Regions from separate parts of the Homo sapiens genome. Here region 2 is linked to region 1. The links are contacts of gene promoters, found by promoter capture Hi-C in blood cells and fetal thymus (Javierre and others, 2016). All regions are on one chromosome and are shown on one strand. The core of a region is centred on a gene start or on the middle of the fragment in contact, and the rest is flanking DNA. Distances in the headings are between cores, read along the strand shown. Region 1 holds the start of ACKR5 (atypical chemokine receptor 5). Region 2 overlaps RBMS2 (RNA binding motif single stranded interacting protein 2).

Region 1 (3,778 bases), core at 921-3,420:
TGACCTCAGGTGATACACCTGTCTCAGCCTCCCAAAGTGCCAAGATTACAAGCATGAGCCACCTAGCCTAGCCCATTATTTTTTTTTTTTTTTTTTTTTTTTAGGAGATGGGATCTAGCTCTCTAGATCCCATCACCCAGGCTTCAGTGCAGCAGGGTGATCATGGCTCACTGCAGCCTTGAATTCCTAGTCTCAAGCGATCCTCCCACCTCGGCCTCCCAAATACAGACTGTACCACCACAACTGGCTATTTTATTTTTTGTAGAGATGGGGGTCTCATCTTGTTGCCCAGGCTGGTCTCAAACTCCTGGGCTCAAGCAGTCTTCCCACTTCGGCCTCCCAAAATGCTGGGATTACTGGTGTGAGCTACTGCACCGGCCATGATAGATTTTGTGATCTTGGAGTGATCTGATATGTAAGTGGAAGGTTTAAGAAAACTACAAAACTACAAAATGAAAAATATTCCCTTCCATGGAGATAAATGGTGCTGATGGTTGCACAGCAGTGTAAATGCACTTAGCGCCACTGAATTGTACACTTAAAAATGGTTAACGTGGTAAACCTTACATATATTTTACCATAATAAAAGAATCAGTGAGCAAACTTTTAAAAAATGTTCTCTTTGAGTGGATAAAGAAAATGTGGTGTGTGTGTGTGTATATATATATATATATATATGGGAATATTACTCAGCCATGAAAGGAAATGAAGTACGGATGCATGCTCCAAAGTGAATGAACCTTGAAAACATGCTAAGTGGAAAAAAAAAAACACAGACACTGAATGTCACATATGATATGGTTCCCTTTCTATTAAGTATCCAGAATAGGTAAATCCACAGGGACAGGAAGCAGAAGGTTGGTGGTGGGGGGAATAGGATTGACTGCTTAATGGTTATGGGGTTTTCTTTGCGGGTAATGAAGATGTTTAGCACGTAGACAGAGGTGGTGTTTGCACAATGTGCATGTCTAAATGCCATTAAATCACACATTTTAAAATGGTTAATTTTATGCTATGGGAATTTCACCTCGACTTAATATATACTCAATCCCGTCCAGCCGACACACCTTTGGCTCAGGCCTAGGCCACTCTGCCATCTGCCAAGTGTGGCTTGTGTAACAGACAACTTCTCTGGGCCTCAAAGAGGGTGAAGAAATCCATCCTCCCCACAGGGGTATCTCCAGAATCCAACGAGATGAAGTGAGGTGAAAGCGCTCTGAAGGGCAGGAAGCTCTGCTGACACAAAATGTTTACCCATAACACGTGGCTTAGAGTCCCTTACCCTCTAGCTTGGCGGGAGAGAGAAGTCTGCTCTCCCTACCCCACGCCCCATCCCCTGCTCATCCCCTGCCAGCCACCCACCACACCCTTCACGCAGAGAAGTATAGAGCCACAGGGGGAGGGCGCCATTCTCTCTCTCCCTCCCTACTCAGGAATCTCCCTGAAGCTTTGACAAAGCCCCCTTGACACCCCGCATTCAATCTTATTTTTATTTTTTTTTATTAACTCTGTCACCTAGGCTGGAGTGCAGTGACCTGATCTCAGCTCACTGCAACCTCCGCCTCCTGGGCTCAAGCGATTCTCCTGCCTCAGCCTCTCAAAATGCTGGAATTACAGGCGTGAGCCACCATGCCCAGCCATTCAATCTTTTCTTTCCCAGATTCTCACCTCCAATCACAAGATGAAGGCAGGGAGCTCACAGCCCTGTGAGGGGCTGGGGAGAATGGCAGGGGTGGGCCAGAGTTATTAAAAGCCCAACTGATGTTCAGATTTATTTTGACCCTCCCCTATACCCCCACATCCAATTTCACTCTAGTAGGAATCAAGACAGGGGAGAGAGGGATTCCAAGCTGACTTAGGGAGAGGAAAATACATACATACGTAAAGCATTTGCCACAGGCCCCACCTGAGCTAAGCACTTTCCCTCCCTCAACAGCTCCTTTAATTCTCAAAGCATCCCTTTTAGTAGATAATAGACCCCACTTTGCAGAGGAGAGCACTGAGGCTGAGGAAAGAGGTAAATTCATTCAGCGGGTGAGGGAGGAGCTGGGATTTTAATGCTGGCAGTATGACCTCCCCGCCACTGGCACACCGGGTCTTTTGCTGGGACATCCCCTGTAACCGGATTGGGGGAATGCAGGAAAAACCCCATCCCTCCCTACAGAGCCTCAGCAGTGACAGCTACTTCCCGGATGAGAAGGGCGGCCGTGAAGCCAGCAGGGAAGCCAGCCCCACAGCCAAGGGCCCCCCAGCCTCCTCACAGCTCCCCATAGCCTGGACCTGCCGGCCCTCCCTCCAGGACCGAGGGGCTCCCAAGGGAAACTCAGGTGAGTGTCGCCCTCTCCCAGGGAAGATGGGAATCAGGGCTTGGAGACAACTGGCTATCCTGCATGATCCACAGGTTTTCCTAGGGATGAATCAGATTGTGTGGTGTGCGTGTGTGTGTGTGTGTTCCACACTCACGGTCCAAATAACAAGACAGAAAAAGAGCAATAAAGATCTGTGCAAAAGGGCTGAGGAATGAAGTGCCAGGAGAGAGGTGGAGGTTGGAGACCACCTAGGAATGGTGGGTGTGGGGGGATTGAGGGGGTTGTTGAGGGGGAACTGGCTGGGGGTGGGGAGAAATGTTGGTGGACACCAACAGTCCTGGCCTCTTCCAGCTGAAACCCCTTAAGAAAGTATCTCTGCTCTTGGGTCAGAGCTAGCAAGTGAGTTGTGTATTATTTATTCACAGTTTGAAAGCTAAACTTCCCTTTCTTGCCTTAGCCCCAGAATCTTTCCCCAAAGCCCCCGACTCCCTCTGGCCTCTACCTTGAGGACACAAGGCTCTCGAGGTCTGCTTTCCCTTCCAACCCTCCCTTCATCCCAATAGGCGTGTGCTGGTCCCAATGTCAGTGAAACCCAGCTGGGGGCCTGGCCCCTCGGAGGGGGTCACCGCAGTGCCTACCAGTGACCTTGGAGAGATCCACAACTGGACCGAGCTGCTTGACCTCTTCAACCACACTTTGTCTGAGTGCCACGTGGAGCTCAGCCAGAGCACCAAGCGCGTGGTCCTCTTTGCCCTCTACCTGGCCATGTTTGTGGTTGGGCTGGTGGAGAACCTCCTGGTGATATGCGTCAACTGGCGCGGCTCAGGCCGGGCAGGGCTGATGAACCTCTACATCCTCAACATGGCCATCGCGGACCTGGGCATTGTCCTGTCTCTGCCCGTGTGGATGCTGGAGGTCACGCTGGACTACACCTGGCTCTGGGGCAGCTTCTCCTGCCGCTTCACTCACTACTTCTACTTTGTCAACATGTATAGCAGCATCTTCTTCCTGGTGTGCCTCAGTGTCGACCGCTATGTCACCCTCACCAGCGCCTCCCCCTCCTGGCAGCGTTACCAGCACCGAGTGCGGCGGGCCATGTGTGCAGGCATCTGGGTCCTCTCGGCCATCATCCCGCTGCCTGAGGTGGTCCACATCCAGCTGGTGGAGGGCCCTGAGCCCATGTGCCTCTTCATGGCACCTTTTGAAACGTACAGCACCTGGGCCCTGGCGGTGGCCCTGTCCACCACCATCCTGGGCTTCCTGCTGCCCTTCCCTCTCATCACAGTCTTCAATGTGCTGACAGCCTGCCGGCTGCGGCAGCCAGGACAACCCAAGAGCCGGCGCCACTGCCTGCTGCTGTGCGCCTACGTGGCCGTCTTTGTCATGTGCTGGCTGCCCTATCATGTGACCCTGCTGCTGCTCACACTGCATGGGACCCACATCTCCCTCCACTGCCACCTGGTCCACCT
Region 2 (3,778 bases), core at 618-3,117, 420 kb before region 1:
ACCAACGTGGAAAAACCCCGTCTCTACTAAAAATGCAAAATTAGCTGGGCATGGTGGCGCATGCCTGTAATCCCAGCTACTCAGGAGGCTGAGGCAGGAGAATCATTTGAACCTGGGAGGCGGAGGTTACGGTGAGCTGAGATCACGCCATTGCACTCCAGCCTGGGCGACAAGAGCAAAACTCCATCTCAAAGAAAAAAAAAAAAATAGAGTGGTCCCCCCTTATTTATGGTTTTACTTTCTATGGTTTCAGTTACCCACAGTCAACTGAAAATATTAAATGGAAAAGTCCAGAAATAGTTACAAAGTTTTTAAATTGTATGCCATTCTGAGTAGCATGATTAAATTTCAGGCTGGGCTCGGTGGCTCATGTCTGTAATCCCAACACTTTGGGAGGCCGAGGCGAGCAGATCACTTGAGATCAGGAGGTCAAGACCAGCCTGGTCAACATGGTAAAACCCCATCTCCATTAAAAATACAAAGCTAGCCAGGAGTGGTAGTGTGCACCTGTAGTCCCAGGTACTCGGGAGGCTGAGGCAGTAGAATTGCTTGAACCTGAGAGGCAGAGGTTGCAGTGAGCCAAGATCACACCACTGCACTCTAACATGAGTGACACAGTGAGATTCTGTCTCAAAAACATAAATAAATAAAAAATTTCATGTTGTCCGCTCCATCCCACCCTTTGTCCAAAGTATCCACACTGCAAATGCTACCCACCCATTAGTCACTTAGTAGCCATTGTGGCCATCAGATGAAAAAGCGTAGTATATCTAGGGTTTGGTACTATCCATGGTTTCAGGCATCCACTAGGGGACTTGGAATGTATCTCCTGAGGATAAGGGGGGACTACTAGAGTCATAAATCTCATATCATTCTTATATTCCTTTTTTCTTCTTGAACTTGTGTTTCTATTCCATTTCTCTATAGAATTTTGTTTCTATTCCATTTCTCTATAGAATTGTATTCTAGTGTAAAATATTTTTATAAAGTCTTTATGGATCATCTTGTCATACTTCTCTGCAACAAAAATATGTATATAAATTAAAAATTTTGGCCAGGCATGGTGGCTCATGCCTGTATAATACCAGCACTTTGGGAGGCTGAGGTGGGCGGATCACTTGAGGTCAGGAATTTGAGACCAGCCTGGCCAAAATGGTGAAACCCCGTCTCTACTAAAAATATAAAAATTAGCTAGGTGTGTTGGTGGGCACCTGTAATTCCAGCTACTTAGGAGGCTGAGGTGAGAGAATCACTTGAACCTGGGAGATGGAGGTTGCAGTGAGCTGAGATCACACCACTGCACTCCAGCCTGGATGACAGAGTGAGATTCCAAAAAAAAAAAAAAAAAAAAGTTATCTTTACAATGATGAGCTCACAATTGCCCAGACAACATAAATATATTAAAATGTTCATACAAGGCCAGGGGCAGTGGCTCACGCCCGTAAGCCCAGCACTTTGGGAGGCCAAGGTGGGTGGATCACCTGAGGTCAGGAGTTCGAGACCAGCCTGGTCAACTCGGTGAAACCCTGTCTCTACTAAAAGTACAAAAATTAGCTGGGCGAGCGCCTGTAATCCCAGCTACTGTAATCCCAGCTACTCAGGAGTCTGAGGCAGGAGAATCATTTGAACCCAGGAGGCAGAAGTTGCAGTGAGCCGAGATCACACCACTGCACTCCAGCCTGGACAACAAGAGCGAAACTCCATCTCAAAAATAATAATAATAAATAAAATAAAATAAAATGTTCATACAAAATTATTATTATTATTATTATTATTATTATTATTATTGAGACAGGGTCTCACTCGGTTGTGCAGGCTAGAGTGCATTGGTACGATCCTGGCTCACTACAGCCTTGACCTTCTGGGCTCAAGTGATCCTTACACCTCCGCTTCCTGAGTATCTGGAACTACAGGCCCCCACCACCATGCCCAGCTAATTTTTTGGTGGGGGGATGGTGGGGGCAGCAAATTTTTTAATTTTTTAATTTTTTTTTTGGAGATGGAGTTTCACTCTGTCGCCCAGGCTGGAGTGCAGTGCTGCAATCTTGGCTCATGGCAACCTCTGCCTCCCAGGTTCAAGCAATTCTCCTGCCTCAACCTCCCAAGTAGCCGGGACCACTGGCACATGCCGCCACGCCCGGCTAATTTTTTGTATTTTAGTAGAGACTGGGTTTTACCATGTTGCCCAGGCTGGTCTCGAACTCCTGAGCTGAGCTCAGGCAATCCACCTGCCTCGGCCTCCCAGAGTGCTAGGATTACAGGCGTGAGCCACTGGACCCGGCCTAATTTTTTAATTTTTTTGTAGAGTTGGAGTCTCACTGTTTTGCCCAAGCTGGTCTTGAACACCTGGGCTCAAGCAGTCCTCCTGCCTCAGCCTTTCAAAGTGCTGGGATTGAGGCATGAGCTACTGTTCCTGGCCCAAATTTTTTTTTTTATTTTTTTGAGATGGCGTCTCGCTCTGTTGCCCAGGCTGGATTACAGTGGTGTGATCTCAGCTCACTGTAAACTCCGCCTCCCGGGTTCAGGCGATTCTTGTGCCTCAGCCTCCCAAGTAGCTGGGATTACAGGTGCATGCCACCATGCCCAGCTAATTTTTGTATTTTTAGTAGAGACAGGGTTTCACCCAGTTGGCCAGGCTGGTCTCGAACTCCTGGCCTCAAGTGATCCACCCAACTCGGTTTCCCAAAGTGCTGGGATTACAGAGGTGAGCCACCACACCTGGCCAAATTATTTTATAGAAGTAAATTTTATTGCATATACAGAAGCATCTATGACATGGATAGGTTTTGTTTTGTTTAGATTTTTCTAATTAGGACAGGTAAGCATAAATTAATATTGTTTATTACTGTAACAAGGGAGAGTTTAATGCCAGTTCTGTTTCTGCTTTTTGTTTTCATGCTGAGAAACCTTGTTCTCATAAATAAGTAGATGGGAGTGGAAAGGATTTTGTTAAAACAGGAATTTTAAAAATTTCTTCTGGCCAGGTGTGGTGGCTTGTGCCTGTAATCCCAGCACTTTGGGAGGCCGAAGCAGGCAGATCACTTGAGGCCAGAAGTTTGAGACCAGCCTGGACAACATGGTGAAACCCCATCTCTACTGAAAATACAGCAATTAGCCAGGCGTGGTGGCTCATGCCTGTAATCCCAGCTACTTGGGAGCTGAGGTAGGAGAATCGTTTGAACCTGGGAGGAGGAGGTTGCAGTGAGCCGAGATTGCACCACTGTACTCCAGCCTGGGCAACAGAGCGAGACTCCATCTAAAAAAACAAACAAAAAAATCCTTCTGAATTATATGCCAAGAACCAAGGTGTTCTGTCATCAAAATTGATTTTTTATGTGTGAATTGACAACTTGCTAAAGTCCCCCAACTTTGTTGTTTCTAAAGAATTGGAAACCATTTGAGAGGAGCTATTGTAAGAGGGGACTTCAGCCTTGATCATTAGCCGTCAGGAGCTCTCCCTCAGGAAGATCAGATTTAACAGTTTTTGAGAAACTTGAGATTCTGAAATGCTCCACGGCCTGCTTACCCTTTGGAAAGACTGTAAGGGGTAGAAGTACCCAACAGAAGACCACAGCTCTACGATACCTAATGTGTGGTTTTCTCTAAAAGGCTCAATTTAAGGACTTTTAACAATATCTTCTTTTGGCTGGTTGCGGTGACTCATGCCTGTAATCCCAGCACTTTGGGAGGATGAGGCGGGCGGATCACGAGGTCAGGAGATGGAGACCATTCTGGCTAACAGGGTGAAACCCCGTCTCTACTAAAAATACCAAAAAAA

What was found. Contacts are between HindIII fragments. The CHiCAGO score rates a contact against its expected background, and 5 or more counts as called.
Region 2: a contact is called between a fragment that was not itself captured here and the fragment with the promoter of ACKR5 in region 1, in 1 of 17 cell types (total B cells). The highest score is 5.2, in total B cells.

Annotation. Positions count from the first base shown.
Region 1 is chr12:56,992,322-56,996,099 of GRCh38, forward strand. It overlaps ACKR5 (atypical chemokine receptor 5), which reads left to right and starts at 2,171. Exons shown (of 2, transcript NM_007264.4): 1 at 2,171-2,327; 2 at 2,873-3,778. The coding sequence starts at 2,889. LOC124902945 (a long non-coding RNA gene) reads right to left here and starts at 3,073. Exons shown (of 4, transcript XR_007063333.1): 1 at 2,948-3,073; 2 at 1,068-1,233. The HindIII fragment of the contact is 5,398 bases long and covers 1,446-3,778 here.
Region 2 is chr12:56,575,705-56,579,482 of GRCh38, forward strand. The region is part of intron 5 of RBMS2 (RNA binding motif single stranded interacting protein 2); the gene reads left to right. Among named protein-coding and RNA genes, the nearest start is that of BAZ2A, 53 kb to the right of the region's middle. The HindIII fragment of the contact is 8,053 bases long and covers 1-3,778 here.